Linked DNA regions of Homo sapiens: all the other regions are linked to region 2. Evidence: promoter capture Hi-C in 16 types of primary human blood cells and fetal thymus (Javierre and others, 2016). All regions are on one chromosome and are shown on one strand. The core of a region is centred on a gene start or on the middle of the fragment in contact, and the rest is flanking DNA. Distances in the headings are between cores, read along the strand shown. Region 1 overlaps PSME4 (proteasome activator subunit 4). Region 2 holds the start of CCDC88A (coiled-coil domain containing 88A). Region 3 overlaps ASB3 (ankyrin repeat and SOCS box containing 3).

The links. Contacts are between HindIII fragments. The CHiCAGO score rates a contact against its expected background, and 5 or more counts as called.
Region 1: a contact is called between a fragment that was not itself captured here and the fragment with the promoter of CCDC88A in region 2, in 1 of 17 cell types (monocytes). The highest score is 6.8, in monocytes.
Region 3: a fragment that was not itself captured here is called in contact with the fragment with the promoter of CCDC88A in region 2 in 1 of 17 cell types (non-activated CD4 T cells); the score reaches 5.7 in non-activated CD4 T cells.

What each region holds. Positions count from the first base shown.
Region 1 is chr2:53,910,863-53,914,951 of GRCh38, reverse strand. All of the region lies in intron 20 of PSME4 (proteasome activator subunit 4), which reads left to right. Among named protein-coding and RNA genes, the nearest start is that of GPR75-ASB3, 53 kb to the right of the region's middle. The HindIII fragment of the contact is 2,420 bases long and covers 1,144-3,563 here.
Region 2 is chr2:55,417,885-55,422,435 of GRCh38, reverse strand. It overlaps CCDC88A (coiled-coil domain containing 88A), which reads left to right and starts at 2,580. Exons shown (of 33, transcript NM_001365480.1): 1 at 2,580-3,419; 2 at 3,520-3,620. The coding sequence starts at 3,357. RefSeq lists silencers at 2,180-2,469, 2,530-2,579, 2,610-2,679. The HindIII fragment of the contact is 14,096 bases long and covers 1-4,551 here.
Region 3 is chr2:53,760,675-53,764,819 of GRCh38, reverse strand. The region is part of intron 2 of ASB3 (ankyrin repeat and SOCS box containing 3); the gene reads left to right. All of the region lies in intron 2 of GPR75-ASB3 (GPR75-ASB3 readthrough), which reads left to right. Among named protein-coding and RNA genes, the nearest start is that of CHAC2, 5.1 kb to the left of the region's middle. The HindIII fragment of the contact is 1,118 bases long and covers 1,008-2,125 here.

The DNA of each region.
Region 1 (4,089 bases), core at 1,104-3,603, 1.5 Mb after region 2:
GGTATCCACTTTGGGGATGCCATGTACCTTTGGGCCTTTAGCAATATAGGGTTACTAAATATCTTTTTTTTGGAAACGAAGTTTCACTCGTTGCCCAGGCTGGAGTGCGGTGGCACAATCTCAGCTCACTGCAACCTCTGCCTCCCAGGTTCAAGTGATTCTCCAGTCTCAGCCTCCCGAGTAGCTGGGATTACAGGCGTGTGCCACCATGCCCGGCTAATTTTTGTATTTTTAGTAGAGACAGGGTTTCACCATCTTGGCTGGGCTGGTCTTGAACTCCTGACCTTGTGATCCACCCGCCTCTGCCTCCCAAAGTGCTGGGATCACAGGCGTGAGCCACTGCGCCTGGCCACTAAATATCTTATACTTACTATAAACTTTACAGTTTCAAAGGATGGATATAATAAAGTAATTGTGGGTAATTAAGGATAAATTTTTTTCTTATTTCGTACTATTGAAAACAGTTTGAATTTTTAACAGTTTTGTCAGATATCACAGGTTGTTGAATTAATCTTAAAATAGGACCTATTTTGCTCTTGGAACCTTTAGATAATGTTTTAAGAGAAATATTTGTGGTATAGTTTATACTCATAATTCTACCTTTATAGATGTGGAAGTTGGATTATGTCTTTCCAGAGTCACAGGAATTTTGGACCCTTGCCTTTAATCCTGAAATCATCATTAATTTTTCCTTTTGCAGTCCATTCTCTAAATAATCTTTTAGGTCTAACCAGCTATCACAGGATGCAAAAAACTAACATCTAAAAAACAGGGTTACTCAAGGTAGAGGAGTCATTTTTCATCTCAAAATATTCCTTTATTTTGTGTCCCCTTTCCTCTGATAGATTTATTACGTCATTTTTAGTTAAATCATCCTTAGGATCTCAGCTTTTACTAACTTTTCGCTCAAAGAAATTCATACTTAAGGTCTAATAGTGAGACCATTTCATTGATATGTGAAAGGATGTGTTGCTTATGCAATGAGGGGCAGGGCTAGCTAACCTCTCTTGGCACCTCCAGGAAACTACCCAGCTCTGCTGGGGGAGCTGCACACAGAAAAGGAAACAGTTACTACTCCACGGTGAGTAACCCTGTTTTCTCCTTATTTCACCTTCTGACTGTTTTCATTTATTTTTAAAAGCTTATGTGTCAGACTTGGAAGTAGTTCCTGTTTTCAGAGTTAATTTAAAATCTAGCAACATATAAGATTTCTCTTTATTTAGTGACCCTTTGTTCACTGGCAGGATAAGAGCCAGGTTTTCATTTGTGTTTATAGTTATTATTGCTACCTAGGATTGAATTGGATAATAGAACACAAAAATAGGCCTAACTGTCTCTTGTGAGACATTTGTACTTTGAAGGGAAAAAATCTATTAGTGGCTTGGTTTTACATCTTTTATGTTTATTTTTATTTGGAAGGGGAAGGGTTATTGGGAAGATAGGATGTTCTTTCACTTATACACAGGAAGAATTTTATATTATTGTTTACAGCTGTTTCATGACAATTCGCCCAGCCTTCATTTACATATGTGATTTGTATTATATATTTTGTTTTTGTGTTATTAGTTATTTCTTTTTCAGCATCCCTTCTTTCCTACCAGTGATTCTTTTCATAGTCCTGCTCTAATCATATCTAAAGAAGATTCCCATCTAGTGGTACGAATACTATAGTTGTTGAAAATTCATAGGTCCTTTTTTAGTGGTACAAATATTTTAATACATTTTACTATATGTTAGGTGGCCTGGTACTATCTAGAAGCTATGAAGCAGATTTAATTTTATTATTATTACATAGAGGGTGTTATTTACAGTATGTTGTGCTGGAATTATTTTTTTGAATTGTATTGTTCCTTAGGTTAAATGATACTATGGTTTGTAAAATGAACTAGTGAATGAGTAGGATGGATTTCACATGAGGAAGGGAGAGGTAGTGATGGAATTTGATTTGACTTACATATTGTTAACATAGCTTTTAGTCAGAATATAGATCTGTAAGACAGTGCCTTAAGACTATTCACTTAAGATTATGTGCATAGCTAAAAGCTACCAGAACAGTTTAATATATCACAGATTACATCCTGGGCACAATGAGATCTATAATGTCACAAAGAGATACAGTCATGATATTTTACTTGGGTAATGGGTAGAGATTTCTTTTAGTAAAAAATCTTCTAAAGGTCAGAAGAGGTAGGATACTATGGCTCATGCCTGTAATCCCAGTGCTTTGGGAGGTGGAGGTAGGAGGATTGCTTGGGGCCAGGGATTTGAGACCAGCTTGGGCACCATAGCGAGACCCTGTCTCTACCAAAAAGTAAATAAACAAAATTAGCTGGCGAGGTGGTGTGCACCTGTAGTACCAGCTACTCAAGAGCCTGAGGTGTATGTGAGTCCACTTGAGCCAGGAAGGTTGGGGCTGCAGTGAGCCATGATCGTACCATTGCACTGCAGCCTGGGTGGCAGAGGGAGATCCTATCTTGAAAAATAAATAAATAAATAGCTACACTTGCTGAGAAGCATTTATTGTAAATCATGTTAATCCAGTTAATTTGTGGTAGGCAAGAAGAGATCAAATTATGGTGGATAAGAATAAACAAAAGCTGTAATGTATACTACCCAGATATGTCCTATATATAGTCTTCCCTTGGTGAAGTTAGGGGATTGGACCTACAGCATACCAAAATACATTCATACTCAAGTGCCACAGTAGGCCCTGTAGAGCTCACATACAGGAAAAGTCAGCCCTCCATATGTGTAGATTTCTCATCTGGCTAATACATTTAGTTGAAAAAAAAATCTGCGTGTAAGTAGACCCACACCTGTGTTGTTCAAGGGTCACCTCTGTGTAGGAGATATGGAAGCTGTATTTTAATCCAAGTTTTAAAAGTCGAGGAAGAAGATAAGGCTTTTATTTAAATACATTACTTAATATTTTACAATCTTATACAGGATTTTTTAAAGTAGTCAGCATAAATGATTATTTTTCAAATTCCCTGATAAGAAAACAATTCAAAGTGTCACATGGATTTTAAGAAATTTGGTGTCAGGACTCTTAGATGAAACTTGTTTGAAAAACTTTAAATTCCCAAATGACAGGCTTTTTAGATATAGTAAAAACTATGGAGAATAATTGGTTATAAAGAATGCTTTTTTTAATTTGTATAATATGACAGTAACTAAAGTGACAGTAATTAAAATTCATGCTTGATTTAATATTATATGGCATTAGATACAGACTGCATAAGCTGCAGACTGTATATTTCTACTTCAGAAAACTAAGTGTTTATGGCAGCAGTGGGGAGACACATACTCTAATAGGATGGCTCATAGCAAGCACTTCCCCTGCTCTAACAGTGGGCGGGGGGAGGGTGGGAACTCTCTTGTGCTTTATTCTTGTTACTCTTGAGTACAGGCCTTTTCTCTTTGGTGAAATCTAATTTCAGTAAAGACATAACGTTCATGTAAAGGAATCTGATTTTATTTTTTACTAACAGATTTTGGATACATACATATTTTTGATCATGCAAAAATATTTAAGATGCTCAGGTTTGCCAGTGGTTGAAGCTTTATAGAAGGAAAACAAAATTTTAAGAGGAATTTGGTCTTGAAAGTCTGAAAAAGCAAATTAACGTTTGATACTATTAATATACAATATTAATAAGCTTTGAAGTAAGTTAGTGAAAAAGAAGCCATTCTTTGTTTATACTCTATGGGCTTGGTTTTGAAACTTGAGAAGGTATTGTTGCTATCCTCTGTACTGGGTTATGGTGAGAAACATAGTTAAATAACTGACATTTTAGAAATATGTTTTTACCTATTACTTAGATAAATACCTGAATTCATAACTGTCAAATATTAAGGTAGAGATAACCCATTTAATTCAGCTACTTTTTGAGGGTATACAATATAGCTGGGGATGTGTTGATTTAAAAATAGTATTTTCTTCATGGCAAGTCTTGTGCAGTTCATTGGTGATTAGTAATAATAATAAGATTGCTGTTTATTAACTCTGTATATGCTTGCCTGATTTGTGCCTTTTTTTCCTTTTAGAATGTATCTCTTTGATTAATAAAAGCTTTGAATTAAATCTCA
Region 2 (4,551 bases), core at 1,331-3,830:
CTCAGTCTGGTCTAAAGTTTCCTGTTTTTACAATTAACTCCTCATGTTTCTTTGTTGAGTGTGTGTGTGTGTGTGTGTGTGTGTGTGTGTGTGTGTGTGTGCGCGCAAAACCTAAAGATAGACCAGAAAGCATCTGGGGCCATCTGGCTCTAGAGAAGAATCCAGATTTCTGTGAGGGCTGGGTACTAAATTGCATAAACAATACTATCTTAATGTATGACTCCTGTGCTAACCCTTCAGTCACCACTTCAAAATGCCCCTAACCTGCTGTATTTGGTGTTAATACTTTTTGGTTTTTCGCCTATGAATGAAGCAGATTGATTTGTCCTAGGATAAACCCAGTATAGGCATAATTACTTCCATATTGTTTTGTCAAGCGTCTGGGGGATTACAAAGAAAAGTGGGTATGTCAAGCACTGGGCTGCTCCTGAAAGCAATGCTGTCTCCTTGGTGCCCACTCTCCTTCTGTCTGTATTTCATTTGCCAAATAAAGAACTGCTATTAAGAAAGAGTTATCAGGCCAAGCGCGGTGGCTCTCACCTGTAATTCCAGCCCTTAGGGAGGCCGAGGCGGTGGATCACTTGAGGTCAGGAGTTCGAGACCAGCCTGGCCAACGTGGTGAAACCCCGTCCCTACTAAAAATAGAAAAATTAGCCAGTGGGTGGTGGCGGGTGCCTGTAATCCCAGTTACTTGGGAGGCTGAGGCAGGATAATCGCTTGGACCCTGGAGGTAGAGGTTGCAGTGAGCTGAGATCGTGCCACTGCACTCCAGCCTGGGTAATAGAGACTCTGTCTCAGAAAACAAAACAAACAAAAAAAGAAGGAGTCACCAAGCCAGGCGTGGTGGCTCACACGTCTCGTCTCAACTGCTAGGGAGGCTGAGGTGAGAGGGTCACTTGAGGCCAGGAGTTTGAGGCCAGGCTGGGCAACACAGTGAGACTCCCATCTCTAAAAGGCTTTTTAAAAAGTCATCAAGAGCAGATGGAAAAGATTGCTAGCAACAAGGATGTCTGAAGGCTTGTGTACTGGCTAGGGAAATGCAAGGTTCTACTTGTACATCACCTAGCAAAGTGCCACATGAATGCATCCTAATTTTAATTAAGATGATTTTCAAAGGGCATTTAGTTCCCTCCTCAAAGCAAGATCCTTTCTCCTGTAACTGAAGCAGAGAGGTTATATTTCAAGTTTTTCATAAAGGTTCTTTATTTTGAAGGAATAATGTTAAAAACAACATTAATGACATTTATAGAACACTTAACTATAAGCTGCCATTTCATTTAACCCTATTATTAGCCCTGCTTTACACGTGACGGAATCGAAGCACAAAGAGACTCAATAACGTGCGTAGGCTCACACAGCTGGTGCATATTGGAACCAGGCAGGAAGACTTCAGAGTCCAGGTTCTCAACTACCCAATTAAGAAATTCTGCTCTTTCTTAACTGTGTTATGACAAAAACATTTTTACTGCTAATTTAAAATATATACTCCGTGTAAATATTTATGTAATGTAAACATAGCACACATTATAAAACTATAATATTATCTTTTATCAAAAAAAGATTGCGTTCTATATGCCCATTTTACCCCGGGAAAAAGGTCTTTATTTTCCTTTGAAATGAGGAGTAGCATTTGATTTTGCCAGGGAACTTAAAATTATTTCAAGGTCCCAGTCGTACGTGGCATGGAGATTTATGACAAATATGTAATCTGTTTATTTGTCACCCAACTTGGATGACTTCTAAATGTTTCTTCTTTGTAGCTCTTGATTTTGCTTGGGTTTCCCCCGACCCATGCCCAAATAGTAAAAAACAAAACAAAACCAAAAAACAATGTCTGAGTCATGTTTGCTCCAGTCAGGGAATACCAACGTGCTGACAGACAGCTCTGGTTTTTAAAAAATCTTACTGTATGTCACTTGCAACTTTGAAGAACATTCATGCGTTAGTGGACTGCATTTGGAAGAAAACAAAAAGGAGAAAAAAACCCCCACCAAGTTGTGGCTCAAGTCCCTCTGCCATTTGCTGCAGTGAGTTTTCCTATTCCATTTTGCTGGGGAGAAGGCATGCTTTACAGAACACATCAAACTGTCCGAAAAAGGCTGTCTGCATCCCTCATGTTTATAAGAGAAGGATTTCTTTCCCCTTCCTTCACGTATCAAAGAAGTCACTCGGGGAGGAAATAAACCATAATTAGGCATGAGCGAGCGAGCAGACAGACCCCTTGCTCTGCCTTCCCTGTCCCCGCCCACCAGGCAACCGTCCTGGGCGCAACCGAGGAGCGGGTTGTCTCCGCAGCAGCTGCAGCGAGCGCGCGCCCACGCCCGAGCCCGCGCCCGCCGCCAGGATCTGGGCGGCGGCGAGGCTAGCCCGGGGGCGCGCTCGCTCGGGAGCGCGCTCATGCAGCGGTTTTCTTCTCCCACAATCCAGAGGCAGCTGCACGGGAGGGGCGGGGAGTCGGCGGAAGGATATCGGCGCGGAGGGAGCAGCGCGCTCCCTTTGACGGCGGCCCCCGGCATTGGCGGGCGGCGCTGGCGGGCGGCGAGGGGTGGGGTGTGATGCGGCACTGCGGTTCTGAGGCCGTTACTCCGGCTTCTCCATAGAGGGCGGAGAAGGCTGGAGCGCGGCGGTGATTTTGTGCCAGGGATTCCCAGAGACGCGCTGAAAGGCTGGCAGGGCTTAGGAAGCTGGGGGGTTAGGGACACACATTCAAGCCCCCACCCCCGGGAGGGGAAGGGGGCTGGAGGCGAGGCTTGAGGGCGGCGGAGGAATGGTGTCTGCTCGGGGGGAAGGGGCGAGCCCTGCCTGTTGGTACTGAGGGGCTGCGGGCAGTGGAGGCTCCGCGGGTCGAAAGCGGCTCCATGCCCATCGGTGGGTGGAACGTGTAGAGGTCGGAACGCCGAGGTCGAGTCTGGTGGCGCCTCGGTATCCTTAACGTGGTCTCTGTTTAACGTATTTCATTTAGCCCCCGTTGGGATTGATTCATTGGGAGCAGTTTCGCTGGTCTGGATCCTCCAGGAGCTGGACAACCTTGACGGGCTTTTTGTCTTGGGTTCCAGCCCCCTTTCCCTTCCTCCTCCTCCAGATGCCTTTTCTCTGCCCCTCCTCGCCCGGTACAGACATTTCCAGCGCAGGCTGCTGCTCGTGGTGTCCGTCGTCGAAGCCACTTCTTGGGATTTCGGCTCGTTTCACTCTGGGGTGTTTTTTGAGGAGGGAGAGTGCCCCCCTCCTCCACGATGGGATTTTTCTCCCTTGCCGAAATGGACTTTCATTGATTTCTACTTACTTCCACGTTTAGTGACCAATTCCCTAGGCGTATTTTTGTGGTAGTTCCTTTTTTCAAATACATACTCTGTAAAATGGAGAACGAAATTTTTACTCCCCTTCTGGAGCAGTTCATGACCAGCCCTTTGGTCACTTGGGTAAGTGGGGTGTCCTTTATTGTATATTTTGCTGAGTTATTTGTGGCTGCAGAGATGGAGGTGGGCGTTCATGTCGTGGTGATCCTTCTGTTTGTTCTAGGTTAAAACGTTTGGACCTCTGGCCGCAGGAAATGGGACCAACCTTGATGAATATGTGGCTTTGGTGGATGGGGTATTCTTGAACCAGGTCATGCTCCAAATGTAAGTTCTTCCTTCTTTCCTAGGTAACGTTTTCTTTGAGAAATAGCATATGGTGAACTTTGAGACACGATGTTTTAAGCCCCTAATTTGGTTCATTGGCCAGAAATATTCAGGTGGTTTAAGAATTGGATCTTGAAAGGAATGCTAATGTTATGGGCTCAGCCCATTATCACAACCTAGATATTTTACCTGTTAAAATTGTGAAACTTTAGTTTTTCATTCTGTCAACCATGTATTGTCACTTGTCTTCAGTACTGAAATCCAAGCCACATTGTGTATTCTTTGATAATTTGGTAAAATAAGAGAGAAAATGAGAATCTGGTTTCCTAAGAGAGGAAAAAAGACTTTACTGTGAAGTTATGTGCATTTGATGCAGAAATGTTTCTTATTAACCTTTATATCTAGAAATAAATGGCTCAAAATTTGAAACTCGTTAAGTAATAGCAGATTTCAGAAGAGAAAATTTCAAACAGTTCTGATTGGTGAGGACTCTTGCTGTAGTAAATAATTTAAATGCCTGTAATAACTAAAGCCTGATGAGATGATTTATTGTGTGAATTATTAGGTTGCTTAATATTTTAGGGATCATTTTAAGGTATTCTTACAGGTTTTGAAATGCAAATAACAAGTCTTGATAACAATTAGATAACGACTTATTGGGCAAATCTTTGTCTTTTGTGTTTATAATATTGGGTTTGTACTAAGTAGGAAAGTATGCTTTTGAGATGGGAATTGAATAGTGAAAGTATATTGGTAGCTGGATCAGTAAAATTAAAACTCAGCTTTTATCTAATTACAGCTATTGTAGCATACGTGTATTCTAAGTACGCTAATGTAGTTTATCAAACTGAATTTTTCAGTTGTGCTCAAAGTAATGTATACTTAGTCTTATTTCTCTTTAATAGAATCTGATGAGAAGAGGTAGTTTGGA
Region 3 (4,145 bases), core at 317-2,816, 1.7 Mb after region 2:
GAGATAATAAAACAGATGGGATAGACAAAAATGGTGTGCTACTGCACATCTCTTTACATCTCTGCATTCAGTGACTTCATGCTTGGGATCGGCCATGGTAGGAGTATTTACACCACAGAAACAAGCCAGTGCTACAAACCAGTGCTATAAACTGGGCTTTCTTCCCTCTGGACAGCTAGTTATTAAATGTTAACCAGCACACTACTGAGTGAAGGTCATTGACTAAAGGCGAGATTCTGACATTTAGTATAGAGGGGGTAGGAAGAAAACAAATGGTGACTGAGCATTGCTTTGTGATAGTCATTGTGCCACATGCTCAATTTATCTTCTTTATCTAATATTTATAAAAATGGTGTTAGAGGCAGTATTATCCTCATTTTATTGGTGAAAAGACCAAGGCTCAGAGAAGTTGACTTGTAAAAGGTTACATAATAAACTAGGGTATTTGATTTGAACCCATTTCTCTGACTCTAAAGCCCTTTTTTTTCCTCTCATACCAAGCTTCTAACATTTAATTGAATGAATTTATAGCATTCAGTTAAAATGAGGTTGACTATAATACTCTGCATTGTAACACTCAGAACCAATTTCATTTCATTGATCGTGGAAATTCAGACCCTCTTTCCTGCATACTTGTCATCACCAGGTATAGGTCCTTAAAATATAAACTTCTGGGTCCATAGCCCATCAGAACTACTAATTTGTTACCTGCTGGACGGGAAAGGAAATAATCTTTACATTGTTTTTGGTAGTGGTAGGTGTTTTTTTTGTTGTTGTTGTTTTGTTTTTTTCTTTTTTTTGTCTTAACAGGTAAGAGATGGTAAGGCTAAACTTCCTAAATCATAATGCAGGAAATTTGTCATGATTGTTTTTAAAATCACATGTTCAAGTGTCTAGTGTCTATTATAGTTGAGTGTTTGAAGATAGTGGAAAAATAGATGTTATTCCTCTAATTTCAAACGCTTAAGATATGTTTTCAGAATCTGTTTGAAGTTAACTATAAAGCTTGAGTTCCCAAACTATTTTTAGTAACAAAGACATGAGTTTGAATATCCTTTTCTAGGCAAAAAGCTCATTTCCAATATACTGTTACATCTCTTCTTCATATCGGAATAGTGTAGTTTATGTTACAGATTTTTTTCATCTGCTGAGTAAACTTGGGCATGCTTTTGACTAAAGGCATTTGAACTGGCTGTTAAATTCATCTCTACAGTTGTCCTGCCATATCCACAGGGAATTGGTCCCAAAATGTCCACGGACACCAAAATTCATGGATGCTCCTCAAGTTCGGCAGTCTGCCCTGAAGATAGGAAAACGTCCTATACACACATACAAAAGGTCAGCCGTCTGTATCTGTGGGTTCCACATCCTACAAATGCTATTATCTTCCATCCCAGTTGGTTGAATCTGCAGGTGCAAAACCCGTGGATACAGAAGCCCGACTGTATTTCCTTTTTTTCTGAGACAGAGTCTTGCTCTGTTGCCCAGGTGGGAGTGCAGTGGTGCGACCTCAGCTCACCACCACCTCCACCTCCCAGATTCAAGCGGTTCTCCTGCCTCAGTCTCCCAAGTAGCTGGGACTACAGGTGCACACCACCAATGCCTGGCTAACTGTCTCACTTTGTTGCCGAGGCTGGTCTCAAACCCTTGGCTCAAGTGATCCTCCTGCCTTGGCTTCCCAAAGTGCTGGGATTACAGGTGTGATGCATCACACCTGCTGTCTTTTATTATATAATTTTCCTACCTCCCTGAGGTTTATCTAATATTAATACACTGTCAGAGATTCCTAAAAGATAATTAGTGCACCCAAATAAGAAGGTATGTAGGCCTACACAAATAAAATGGAAATATCTAAAATGATTAGAAGAGTTTTGCTTCACTGTCTCTTCAATTTAGATTTGGAATCCATTCTGAGTACCATACATGGTCTTCTGACTCAAGTTGGAGAAGAGCATTCAAGTGTGGTGTAGATTACATAGAAGTTTAATATGCATACATATTTTTGTATTTCTTATGTATCTCATTTTAGTTTTCTGTTTAACATATTAGCACAGATAACAAATTTGCTTGTCTTCTCTCCTGTATTGGAGGTTGGGTGTAATGGGTGTTGAGATTTTATGAAGCTTGTCATCCTGGAGGGCAGTAATGATCTTCACTGACAATTAATGCCATTCAATAATAAGTCATTTGCTGACTAAAAGTCCCTTAAAAATCTTATAATTATTAAGCATATAGCTAAAAAATACTTTTATTTGGCTAATAAATGATCTAGCTCATAGTATTTTTTATTAGTTCATGTTAAATAAGAAAATACGCACTAATACTGGGCACAGTAACAGATGCAGAAGTTCCTTAGACAAATAAATCATTGTAGCACAGCGATTAAGAGTTACGGTCAGATGGACCTGAATTCTAGTGACTCTACCATTTTATTGGTGTGACTTTGGACAGGTTTTTTAACCTCTAAGTGGTTTAGTTTTTTCATCTGTTAGATAGAAATATTCCATTGTTCCAGCTCAGGCCAGAAACTCTGGGCCATCATTAATTCCTTTCTTTTTCTCATATTTCTCATCTAGTCAGTCAGCAAATTTGTGTATGTGTATGTCTATATTTGTGTGTATGTATACACACACACACACACACACACAGTTAGATCACTTCTCACTACCATTAATACCTTGTCTGCGTTGCTATAATAGCATCTTAACAGATCTTCTCTATCTGCCATTGCTCCTTCTGCATCCTATGACAGACCACCCTCAATATATTAGAGGGATCATTTTAAAATGCAACAGACCAAGTCACTCTTCTGCTCTCTTGAGTGAAAACACTTTTGTGTAGTATTTCATGGTAGAGATGTAATGTAATTTATGTAACCATTCTTCTATTGATAGATATTTTGTTTGTTTCCTAAAGTTTTGCTGTTATAACTAGTGATTCAGTGAACATCCTTATGTATATATCTTTGTCTACATGGTTAACCATTTCTGTAGGATGGAGTTTTAGAAGTGCAATTACTGTTTGATAAGTTAGAGTTTCCTGGAGAAATAGAACCAATAGAATATATATAGATAGACAAGAGGGGATTTACTATGGGAATTGGCTAATGTAATTATGGGAGCTGAGAAGTCCCATCATATGCTCTCTGTAAGATGGAGAACCAGGAAAGCTGGTGGTGTAACTCACCCTAAGTCTGAAGGCCTGAGAACCAGGGGAAGTGATAGTGTAACTCTCAGTCTGAGGCCAAAGGACTGAGAACTGGGGTGTGGGAGGCCACTGGTATGAGTCCTGGAGTTTGAAGGCCTGAGGATCAGGATCTCCAGTATCCAAGGGCAGGAGAAGATGCATGTCCTAGTTCAAGAGAGAATGAATTCTCCTTCTGCCTTTTTTTTTTCATTTGCAGGATTAATAGAGTGAAAACAGAGCCCCCATACAACGGGAGGGGACCCAAAGGGGGTTGCTGCTCCCTGCTCGAATGCCTGAGTTTATATCCTGATCATTGTCCCTCCCTCTGTGCTCTCAGGCGATATATGATTTGACTATTTCTTTACCTCATGCTGTAGCCTAATTTGTATTTTAGTGAGCCCTCTTTACTACCTGATTGGTCAGGTGTGAGCTGAGTTACAAGCCCGGTGTTTAAAGGTAGGTGCGGTCACCTTTCCCAGCTAGGCTTAGGAATTCTTAGTCTGCCTAGGAAATCCAGCTAGTCCTGTCTCTCAGTCCCCCCTCTCAACAGTAAAACCCAAGTGCTGTTGGGGAGGTTGGCCGACGACTGCTCTTAAGTGCTTCCTGCTGTATTGGGGCATAGTAGGGGTCGTGCAGTTTAGATTTCATCAGGAGGAGTGCCTTCAATGTCATTAACATCGGAGCATGGGCTAGCAGGCTGTTCCAGGGGTCCACGGTAGATCTTAGTCATGGACTGCATCTGGGGTTCTATTTGAAGAACAATTTGTAATTTTACAGCTTTGATTCTGGAAGAGACAAACTTAACAAGGAGGTTAAAGATACAGGGATTGAAATGTAGGCCTGAAGTGCCAGGGATTATTTCTTCGGCACACTTCACAGATCCTGACTATCTGCTTGATAGTTTTGAAAAGGCCTGGTCTAGTAAATAATGATTTGGCCATCTGATGGGTGCTATCAAT